Linked DNA regions of Homo sapiens: region 2 is linked to region 1. Evidence: promoter capture Hi-C in human tissues and cell types (Jung and others, 2019). All regions are on one chromosome and are shown on one strand. The core of a region is centred on a gene start or on the middle of the fragment in contact, and the rest is flanking DNA. Distances in the headings are between cores, read along the strand shown. Region 1 holds the start of PHLDB3 (pleckstrin homology like domain family B member 3). Region 2 holds the start of ZNF428 (zinc finger protein 428).

The links. The method cuts DNA at HindIII sites, captures the fragments that hold promoters and counts their contacts. A contact is called where the count stands out against the background at its distance.
Region 2: the fragment with the promoter of ZNF428 here is called in contact with the fragment with the promoter of PHLDB3 in region 1 in 1 of the 25 tissues and cell types used here (stomach).

Annotation. Positions count from the first base shown.
Region 1 is chr19:43,500,968-43,506,533 of GRCh38, reverse strand. PHLDB3 (pleckstrin homology like domain family B member 3) reads left to right here and starts at 1,788. Exons shown (of 16, transcript NM_198850.4): 1 at 1,788-1,945; 2 at 2,402-2,628; 3 at 4,251-4,433; 4 at 4,663-4,800. The coding sequence starts at 2,416. RefSeq lists silencers at 1,592-1,651, 2,252-2,501 and an enhancer at 2,130-2,652. The HindIII fragment of the contact is 32,375 bases long and covers 1-5,566 here.
Region 2 is chr19:43,616,601-43,622,049 of GRCh38, reverse strand. ZNF428 (zinc finger protein 428) reads left to right here and starts at 2,421. Exons shown (of 3, transcript NM_182498.4): 1 at 2,421-2,492. LOC105372411 (a long non-coding RNA gene) reads right to left here and starts at 2,989. Exons shown (of 4, transcript XR_001753942.2): 1 at 2,418-2,989. RefSeq lists a silencer at 2,368-2,607 and an enhancer at 2,412-3,062. The HindIII fragment of the contact is 11,511 bases long and covers 1-5,449 here.

The sequences.
Region 1 (5,566 bases), core at 539-3,038:
CTGCAACCTCTGCCTCCCGGGTTCAAGCGATTCTCCTGCATCAGCTTCCCAAGTAGCTGGGACTACAGGCGCGTGCCACCATGCCCGGCTAATTTTTTCATATTTTTAGTAGAGACAGGGTTTGACCATGTTAGCCAATATGATCTTGATCTCCTGACCTCGTGATCCACCAGCCTCGGCCTCCCAAAGTGCTGGGATTACAGGTGTGAGCCACCGCGCCCAGCCCGGGAGCCCACAAGATTTCTAACTCACAAGATCAAAAACAAACACAGCTATCTGGGGCAGGTCTTCTCATCACCTTGGATTAGAACACCGGCTTGCTTTTGAGCCACTTCCCACTTAGCCCTGGGGTAAGTTACTTCACTTCTCTAGGCCTCAGTTTTCTTATCTCTAAAATGGAAGGAATAATAATGGGGTGTTGTGATGCTCTGATGAGTCAATGTGTGTGAGTGCCTGGCACATGGCCTATCAGTGTTCACCATTAAAGTTACTATCATTTAGAATGATCTTTTGGGTACTTCCTGGCTTGTAGTGACAGTATACGCAATGGTTAAGAACATGGACTTTTGAGAGAATGAAGCCTGCATTTTACCACTTACAACATGTGTAGATGTTGGCTACATTTTTTTTTTTTTTTCTGAGATGGGGTCTTACTCTGTCGCCCAGGCTGGAGTGCAGTGGCACATTCAAGACTCACTGCAGCCTCGACCTCCTGGGCTCGAGATATCCTCCTGCCTCAGCCTCTGGAGTAGCTGAGATGACAGGTGTGTGCCACCACGCCTGGCATAATTTTTGTATTTTTAGTAGAGATGGGGTTTCTCCATGTTGCCCAGGCTGGCCTTGAACTCCTGATCTCAAGCAATCCACCTGCCTCGGCTTCCCAAAGTGCTGGGATTACAGGCCTGAGCCTCTGTGCCCAGCCAACCTTGGGTGCATTTGTCCTCCTCAGCTTGTATCCCCAAGTGTAAAATGGAGATAGTAGGCCAGGAGCGGTGGCTCACGCCTGTAATCTCAACACTTTGGGAGGCTGAGGCAGGCAGGTTGTTTGAGCCCAGGAGTTCAAGATCAGCCTGGGCAACCTGGAGAAACCCAGTCTCTACTAAAAAAAAAGAAATGGAGGTAGTAATCACTTTCTCGCTGGACAGCTTTGAGGGTGAAATTAAATGACTGGGTATAAAGTGTTTCACACAGCTCTTGACTTCTAATCATCCCTTTTCATATACCAGTTATTTTCCTGTTTTCATTTTCCTGTTTTCGCCCAGAGAGGAAAGGGTCTGGCTGAGACCTTTAACCTCTGCCCTCCACCCCATAGCAAAGTTGTGGGGGGGTGGCGGTACACTTCCCTCAGTCTCTGGGCAGGTGTCTGACTCAGTTCAGGGCACCCCTTCCCCTTGTCCAGCTCCCCAAACCGGTCAGGGCCCTTCTGAAGGGCTCATTAGAGGGGAGACGTCCCCATCTCCATTCCTGCCTTCCTTTCTGAACTCCCAAGGTCTGGACATTAGAGAGGCTCCCATACAGAGGTGGCCAAGACTCCTCCAGGGGGGCAGGAATGAGGGGCTCGAGGGAGACTGGGAGGTCGCGATGCTGAGTTCCACGAGGGTGGGGCCGGGCCGGGGCCGGTGGGGCCGGGATGGCCGGATGCCGAGGCCACGGGTGGGGCAAGCCCGTGGCTCCCTCCTCCCTCGGGAGCTGTTGGACCTGTTGTCCCCCCTCCACTTCCGGGCTGCTGGGGAGGGGGACCGGGCGGCCTCTCTCCTCCCTCTTCCCCTGCCACCTGTCTCATAGGCAGAAGCGGCCGTGCCCAGCGCGCAGAGCGGAGCGCGCCGAAGCCTGAGCTCGTGAGGGGGCCGAGGCTGTGGGGAGGTGGCAGTTGGACTTCGGAATCTCAAGGACTCCGACTCCTGGCTTGTTCAGAGAAGGAGAGCCCCGACTCCTGGATCCCTGGGTGAGGCGGCGTGGGCACGGTTGCCCTGCACAGTGGGGTCGGGACTAAGACTACGGGGCTCCGGGAAGGATGGGGCGGGAGCCGAACTGCTGAGTCTCGGAGGGAGAAGATGGGTCGCTCTAAGCGAATCCAAGAGATTGTAGGGGGCTGCTGGGAGGGTACAAGGCCTGACACCTAGAGATGAGGGAGGGGAGGCGGGGTCGAAGAGGTCAGTAGGGGGCGTGCTACGACCCGGACTCAAATTCCGGTCCCGTCTCCGGTGGCGTGTCGCCTTGGAGCCATCAAGCCCCGCCTCTGGAAACTTCAGGACACGCCTCCGTAACGCTCAGTTCCATCCTTTGAACTCTTAGGCCCCGCCTCCTTGGGGGGGGGTCTCCGCGCCCCGGAGCAGACGCGAGCGGCGCTCAGCCGTCCTAGGCCCCGCCCCCGGAGCTTCTGGTCCCGCCCACCCCGCAGGAGTCCCAGCGGCCATGGGGACGCGAAGCAGCCCCGAGGAGGGGACCCCGCCGCCGCTGGTCCCGGAATGCGACGTGGAGGTCCAGCCCCAGGGCCATCCCGAGGAGTCCCGGGAACAGGAGGCATCCGAAGTCCTGGCGGAACCTTCGAGCCGCGGGGGAGCTGAGCAGCAGGCAGAGGAAGAAGAAGTGGGAGAAGGCAGCAGCACTGAGAGCAGCCGCGACGCGGTGAGGGGCCCGAGGGCGACAGCGCGGGGGGCTTGGACCGACGGGGACCCAAACAGGTGGCCAGACAGGTAGACAGGTAGAGGGAAACCAGAAAGACAGAGACCCGGAGACAGGGAGAGAGACCGAGTGATAGCAGAGACTACTGAGAGAGAGATACACCAGGACACGGAGCCAGAGAGGCAGAGGCACAGACAGACAGAAACCAGATACAGAGACAGAAACCAGATAGAGCCACGGGGAGGCCCCAAGAACGGAGATAGACCCAAACGGGCGACAGAGACAGAGAGACTAGTATAGAGGAACCAGATAGGTGGCTCACGCCTGTAATCCCAGCACTTGGGGAGGCCGAGGGGAGGATTGCTTAAGCCCAGGAGTTCGAGACAAGTCTGGGCAACATAGCAAATCCCTGTCTCTAGAGAAAAAAAAAATACAAAAATTGTCCAAGCGCAGTGCCGCGTGCCTGTAATCCCAGCTACTCGGGAGGCTGAGGCAGGAGGATCGCTTGAGCCCAGGAGTTGTAGGCTGCGGTGAACTATGACTGCGCCACTGCACCCCAGCCTGGGACAAAGCAGAACCTATCTCTAAAAATGAGAGAGAGAGAGAGAGAGAGAGAGAGAGAGAGAGACCAGATAGACAGACAGGAGAGACTACAGAACAGAGAGAACCAAACGAGTAAGAGATGCAGAGAGATCAAGAAGCCAGACAGAGACCCAGAGACATGGAGACTGAGAGACAAAGACCCCAAAAAGACAGAGACACAGTGAGACTAGAGTCAGAGAGAGGGGAATCGAGACAGAGGGAAACCCAGAAATAAATGGCAGAGATGCTCAGAGAAACAAATAGACAAAAACCTCGAGAGAGGGACATACTCCGAGGAAGAAAGATCTAGTGATTCTAGTGGACAGATCTAGTGGACAGATACCGAATCTGAGAGACTGGGGTCAGGTGGAGAGACAGAGACAGATCCAGGCACTACAAGAAAGTGACGCCAAGAGAATAGGACCTGATAGAGAAAAAGAAACACCTTTCATAAGTCGGCTTTACACCTGCTCACCCTCCATACGGTACTGCAAGCCTCTGTGGTCCGTGTGGTTGGGTGGTCACGGGACTTGCACCCTCCCCCACTCCGACCTTAAATACAGGGGTCTGAGGCCGGGCGCGGTGGCTTATGCCTGTAATCGTAGCACTTTGGGAGGCCGAGGTGGGAGAATCCCTTGAGCCTAGGAGTTTGAGACCAGCCTGGGCAACATAGCATCGCCCCCTCTCTGCCAAAAAAAAAAAAAAAAAAAAAGAGCTTGGCGTGGCGGTGCGCGCCTGTAGTCACAGCTACCTAGGAGGATGAGGCAGAAGAATCGCTTGAGCGAGGGAGGTCGATGCTGCAGTGAGCCGTAATCGCGCCACTGCACTCCAGCCAGTGAGACCCTATCTCAGGACAAAAAAAAAAAAAAGATAAGAAAGAAAAAGAAAAGAGCCTGCGACAGATTATGGGAGTGGTGGTTGTGTTAGGTAAGTGGACTGATGGACTGAGACCCGCAGAGGGTGATGTTGGGTGGGGACCAGACCTACTTAGTGATTGCAGGGGGCGAGGCATCTCCACTTAACCACGCCCCCCTCAACTTCAGCCCGAGGCTACGCCTCCGATAGCTATGGCGGCCACACCTCCCGCATCCACCTCTTCGCGGGAAGGGGTGCGAGGGGCGGCGCGGCGCCTGCAAGGACAGCAGCTGGAGGCATTGACTCGTGTGGCCCTGATGGAGCAGCGAGTGAAGGAGCTACAGCGCCAGAGGAAGGAGCTGAGGATCGAGGTGAGGCTGCGGACCCCTTGGGAAGCCTGGCCCCAACTCAAGCGGAACCCGCAAAGCCGGACTCCCAGCTTTTTCCTCGGGTGGGATCAGATTTTAGGCCCTCCGCTCTTCCTCCCTCCAAATTCAGGTCCCTGGAGTCCATCCTCCCTTCGAATCCGGTAGTTCAGGCCCTGGGCCTCTTCCTTGGACCTAGGCGTCCGAGCCCCCAGCCCTGGCATTCTCTCCGCAGATGGAGGTGGAGGTGGCCTTGCTGCGGGGTGAGCTGGCTGGGGAGCGAGTGGCCGCTCGCCGGGAGGAGGAGCAGCTGCGGGAGCTGCTGGAGCAGCAGGCGGCCTCGGAGCAGCGCGGCCGCCAGCAGCGGGAACAGGTCTGTTTGGCTCACCGGGTCTTCATCAGCAGTGTCCTTCCTGGTCCATGGATGTTGGTGTGCTCCTAGCCACCTGCGCCCCGGGGTTGTCCCCATTCCCCAAAGGAAGACATTTGGGCTCCTGAGAGAGTGAGGGGCAGATGCCCCTCCTGGTTTTCCTTCTCCCTCCCTGGGCGAGATTTTTGGGGCTCTTCCTTTGTCCCCTGTCCGTTTGCTATTTAAATGTGGGTGTGTAAAAACTTCCAAACTGGCCGGAAGCAGTGGCTCACGCCTGTAATCATAGCACTTTGGGAGGCCGAGGCGGGCGGATTGCCTGAGCTCAGGAGTTTGAGACCAGCCTGGGCAACATGGCGAAACCCCGTCTCTGCTTAAAAATACAAAAATTAGCAGGGCGTGGTGGCGGGCGCCTGTAGTCCCAGCTACTTGGGAGGCTGAGGCAGGAGAATCGCTTGAATCCGGGAGATGGAGGTTGCAGTGAGCCAAGATCGCACCATTGCACTCCAGCAGCCTGCGTGACAAGAAGGAGACTCCGTCTCAAAAAAAAAAAAAAAAAAAAAAGAGAAAAAGAAAACTTCCAAACCCACCCCACAATAGTCAGGCAGCTCCCATGTCCTGTGCCCACCAGCTTCATCAATGATTAATATTCTTACATTCTTGTTTCATTATCTCCAATTTGTTCTCGTCCCCAGTTTTAAAAGCCAATCCCAGACATCATATGGTCTGTACATATGTTTAGAGTGTATCATTGACAGATAAGAAATCCTTT
Region 2 (5,449 bases), core at 1,172-3,671, 110 kb before region 1:
CTTTGCCTAGCTCCCCATCACCTTTAGACCAAGTCAAAGCTCTTTAGTCTGGCATCCCAGGCCTCTCATTCATTCATGTACATTTTAGATGTATTATTCTAACTTTAAAAAATAACCTCTTACGATGTGCCAGGTGCTGCTCAAAGTTCTAGAGTCCATGGTGAATAAAACAGGCAAATGTTAAGTGTTAAAGACAGCGCTACACTAATCTGAAATCTGATCCTGCTCTAAGCATTGAGAACCCAAAGTGAAAAAGGGCGACTCCATTCTTACCCTCATGAAGCTTTCATGAGGAAAACACTCAAAACAAGGAAGCAAAGAAAGTTCAGATTGTGATAAGAACTATTAATATAAATGCAGAGTATGGTGATGTGGTATGCCATTGTCATTATGGAAAACTTCAAACCCACAGGAGTAGACAGGACAATAACGTCCCATGTACTCTTTTTTTTGAGACCAAGTCTCGCTCTGTCGCCCAGGCTGGAGTGCAGTAGCGCCATCTCGGATCACTGCAAGCTCCGCCTCCCGTGTTCACGCCATTCTCCTGCCTCAGCCTCCCGAGTAGCTGGGACTACAGGCGCCTGCCACCACGCCCGGCTAATTTTTTTTTTTTTTTTTTTGTATTTTTAGTAGAAATGGTCTAGGATGGCCAGGATGGTCTCGATCTTCTGACGTGATCCGCCCGCCTCGGCCTCCCAAAGTGCTGGGATTACAGGCGAGACCCAGAGTCTCGCTGGGTGGCCCAGGCTGGAGTGCAGTGGCTCAATCTCGACTCAATGCAACCTCTGCCTCCAGGGTTCAAGTGATCTTCGTGCCTCAGCCTCCCAAGTAGCAAGGATTACAGGCACCCCCCATAACCCCTGGCTAATTTTTGTAGTTTTAATAGAGGCAGGGTTTCACCATGTTGCCCAGGCTGGTCTCAAGCTCCTGACCTCAGGTGATACACCAGCCTCGGCCTCCCAAAGTGCTGGGATTACGGGCGTGAGCCACCGCGCCCAGCCCCATGTACTCTTCATGCCAGTTACAACCACCACCAACTCATGGCCAATCCCGATTTATCCATAACTCCAGTCAAATGTGTAAGTGCTATTATGGAGAGATCAGGAAAAGCCTCTCAGATTGACATCTGTACCAAGATATGAATGGTGAGCACAAGAGTAGGTATTCAAAGGTCAGAGGGAAAAGCATTTTCAGGCGGAGGGAACGGCAAGAGCAGAGGCCCGAGCTGGTAAAGAGTTTGGGGTAAGGTGGAGCTGGACAGAAATGGAGGGAGGAGGAAGTAGGTGGGGTCAGAAAGATAAGCACGGCCAGACCAGGTGTATAGCCCTGAGGCCATGATAAAGATTTTTGGATTTTTTTTTTTTCCTAATGGGATCCCTTTGGGGGAGTTTTAAGCCAGAATGTGACAAAGTCACTTACAGGAAGACTGGAATGTAGCCATAGTTGAACTCTAACATCGTCTATAGAACCATTTCCCGTCTCCAGTTAGGTTCTAGGCATACTAAGCTGCTCTTGCTTCCTCAATCAAAACATGCGCTTCTATTTTTTTTTTTTTTTTTTTGGCCTCTGGGCCTTGGCGCTTGCAGTTCATTCTGCCAGACCCATTCCCATTCTAGTTGGCTCCTATTCGTACTTGGCTTAAGGATCACCACCTCCTGGAAGTCTTTCTAGAACCAGAGGCCGGGGCAAGCGCCTCTTAGGCTCCCACAGCCCCCTGTGTTCCTCACTCCAGGTCTGACCTTCTGGGTAGTAGTTGTCTAATTAGGTGCGTATCTCCTTCGACTGGGGTGCCGTGAGTACAGGAGTATGGTTCACTGCAGAAACCACAGAATCCGCCAGCATGGGGCCTGACACCTAGGAGATCAATAAACCTTTATCCTGGTTGGGAGGGGTCCTGGCCCTCGTGCCCTCTCTCAGGATGCAAACTGATCCCCTACGAAGACAAGGCTACCCACTTCGCGTCAGTCTGCAGTCCCTGCGCGCATGCGCTTTGCTCAGGTTGCCCCCGCCATATGCTAATCACTGCGCTCTGGAGTAAGGCCCCTCCGGGGAATATGCAAATCACTCCTTCCAGTGCGGGAGGCCTTTCATTGTCCCGCGCTAGGATTATGCAAATAAGCAGGCCTCGGGCCCAGGATCCAGTCCGAACTAGCGCCCTCCACCCCCAGCGCATCCCAGTTTTGTAAGGCGCGTTCCTGCCCCGCACACGCACGCGCGAACCCTTCAGCTTCTTGTTCCTTTGGGCCGCGGGCTGTACCAAGTAAACCCAGGCAGCGAGGGGCAAAGCACGGCGCCCCCCGCGCGGGTCTCGTCGACGGCCCGACGCGCATAGCCCCTCTTCCCACAGCGCTACAGGACTAGTCCGTCTCGCCGCGCAAGCGCCCTAGGCTCTTCACGCCCCCTGCGCGCTGTCCTACCCTACTTGCGACGCAGGCGCAGAGGCTGGGCGTGCAGCCGCCGCCGCAGAGCCGGAGCGGGGGCCGCCGGCGCCGGTGAGTGTCCCGGGCAGGGGTGCGCGAGGCATGCCGGGAAGCGGGCGCTACGGCCCCGCTGCATGATGGGAGCGACGACTCCCGTCACCGGGGAGCCGGCGGTCTGGGGCCGTGGTGACCCGAGGGCTTCTTTTTCTCCCCCTACGCGTTTGTGCCGCCCTGGGGCATCCTGGGAGAACCGAGCGCTCCGCCTTGAAGCGCTGTGGGAGTCGGTCCGCTAGTCGTAGGCCTGGTGCATCCTGGGAAAGAGTGTCCCAGATCCTTGTCGAGACCGGTTCCTTTTATCCCACACCTGCCGCTGACCGTCCTGGAGGCTTGGAGCGCTTCCACACGGGGAGTCTGGGAAGGTGGTCGCTATAGGCCTAAGGCATCCTGGGAAGAACTGCCACAACGAATTGTGGGAACTGGCCGTTATTGTCCCGTAGTGGAAGGTTTTGCCCTGGTCTCTTTGCTCGAGCATTGGAACGGGTGCCTATTGTGTTCACGCGGGGCATCTTGGGAATTGACTGCTATAGGCCCAGGGCATTGTGGGGTCTCCAGCACTGTGTTTGCCTTTCAGTTTGGCTGCCATAGGCGTGGTAGGAGTGGGACTTGTGAACCAAGGGATGGCCCTACCTGACGTCTGGAATACTCTGGAAGGGGCCTTGTGTGACGTGGGCTTGGAAAAGTGTAGGCTGATGGGCATTGTCTCCTGGTAACTTCAGGGAATGTCTTGATTGTCCCAGGTGTGTGGTTGCCGTATAAAATATACAATGTCTAGTTAAATTTGAATTTCAGATAAACAATTATATCCAAAAGATACAACCTTTTAGAAAAGTATGTCCCAAATATCACATGGAACATAGCTATATTAATTCTTTGGGCTAGTTGCAGTGATACCAATACTTTGGGAGGCTAAGGCAGGAGGATCGCTTGAGACCAGGAGTTCAAGACCAGCCTGGGCAATATAGTGAGACCCCCGTCTCTACAAAAAAAAAAAAAAAAAAAAAAAGTAAAAATTAAGCCTGGCATGGTGGCGCATACCTGTAGTCCCAGCTGCTCTCCTAGGGGCTAGTAGGGTACCTTGAGCACAGGAGTTTGAGGTTACAGTGAGCTAACCTCCCAACCTGGTTATGGGGGAGTACATGAGTTAAGGCCTGGAAGCCCCTTTCCTACAGATCACCCTACTGCACTCCAGCCTGGGCAACTGAGCGAGACCCTGTCTCTTAAAAAATATAAATAAGTAGGCTGGGCGCGGTGGCTCACGCCTGTAATCCCAGCACTTTGGGAGGCCGAGGCGGGTGGATCACGAGGTCAGGAGATCGAGATCATCCTGGCTAACACGGTGAAACCCCATCTCTACTAAAAATACAAAAAATAGTCGGGCGTGGTGGCAGGCGCCTGTAGTCCCAGCTACTCGGAAGGCTGAGGCAGGAGAATGGCGTGAACCCAGGAGGCGGAGCTTGCAGTGAGCCGAGATCGTGCCACTGCACTCCAGCCTGGGCGACAGAGCAAGACTCCGTCTCAAAAAAAAAAAAAAAAAAAAAAAAAAAGCCGGGCATGGTGGCACGCGCCTGTAGTCCCAGCTACTTGGGAGGCTGGGGCAGGATAATCGCTTGAACCCAGGAGGCAGAGGTTGCAGTGAGCCGAGATCGCGCTACTGCGCTCCAACCTGGGCGACAGAGTGACACTCCGTCCCAAAAAAGAAAATTAAATAAATAAATAAATAAGGGCCAGGTGTGGTAGCTCATGCCTGTAATCCCAGCACTTTGGGAAGTGGGAGGCCAAGGCAGGAGGATTGTTTGAGCCAGGAATTTGACAGCAGCCTTCGCAACATAGTGAGACACCATCTCCGCAACAAAAACCCAAAAACAAACAAAAAAATTAATTGGATGTCTTCTGTTTTTATTTGCTAAATCTGGCAATCTTATCTTGGTATAAAGTAGAATTCCCAAATTAGATGGGGCCCTGTAGGCAATAGGGTATCATTAGAATTCTCCTCTGCCAATTATGAAATCTGTCTTTAAAAGCCAAGATTTAGGTGCTTTCTTTAGGAAGTTGCCCTGCCAATGATGCCAATGGTCCTTTGCCCCAGCCACCTCCAGGTTTCAATCTGAAGCTTTTCTCTTTAGTCCCCAGCATTAAACTTGACATCCAGACTTTGAAGGGACCATGTATTTTCCACCATTGTATCCCCAGTGCATGGGCCTTGGCATGTAAGAGATATAGCTGAGGCTGCATCAACTGGCCCTGCTTGGTTCTCTACTGTCAGGGAGTACAGTGGAAGACAGTAGTGGTGTGTGTGTGTGGTGGGGTTGGTGGGGGGCGGGGGCGGTCCGTTGGTGAAGAGGGAGAGAGAGAAGTCACAGAAGGCTTCCTGGCAGAGGCAGTATTTCAGCGGGCAAGAAGTATAGAGGTTCTTATGTTTGTGGTGGGCTTTGAAGGGTGAAAAGGAGTTCTCCAGGCCAAAAAGGGGGAAGGAGGGCTGGGCGTGGTGGCTCTTGCCTGTAATCCCAGCACTCTGGGAGGCCAAGGTAAATGGATCACCTGAGGTCAGGAGTTTGAGACCAGCCTGGCTGACATAATGAAACCCTGTCTCTACTAAAAATACCAAAAAATTAGCCGGGCATGGTGGTGGTGGCTGCCTGTAATCCCAGCTACTAGGGAGGCTGATGCAGGGTAGAGGTTGCAGTGAGCTGAGATCGCGCTACTGTACTCCAGCCTGGGCAACAAAGTGAGACTCCATCTCAAAAAAAAAAAAAAAAAGGAGGAGGAGGACATTCTTGACAGCAACAGTGGGTGTACTAAGACCCACAGATGTGAAAAGGCCTTGTGTGCACAGGGAGAGATGAGAGGTCTGGAACATCTGGAGTTTATAGAGGGGCAGGGGTGGGAGTAGTAATGGCCACTCTTGATGGAATACCAGCCACACACCAGCAATTTCTATCAGTGAGCCTACTGAATCTTCAGAAAAACCT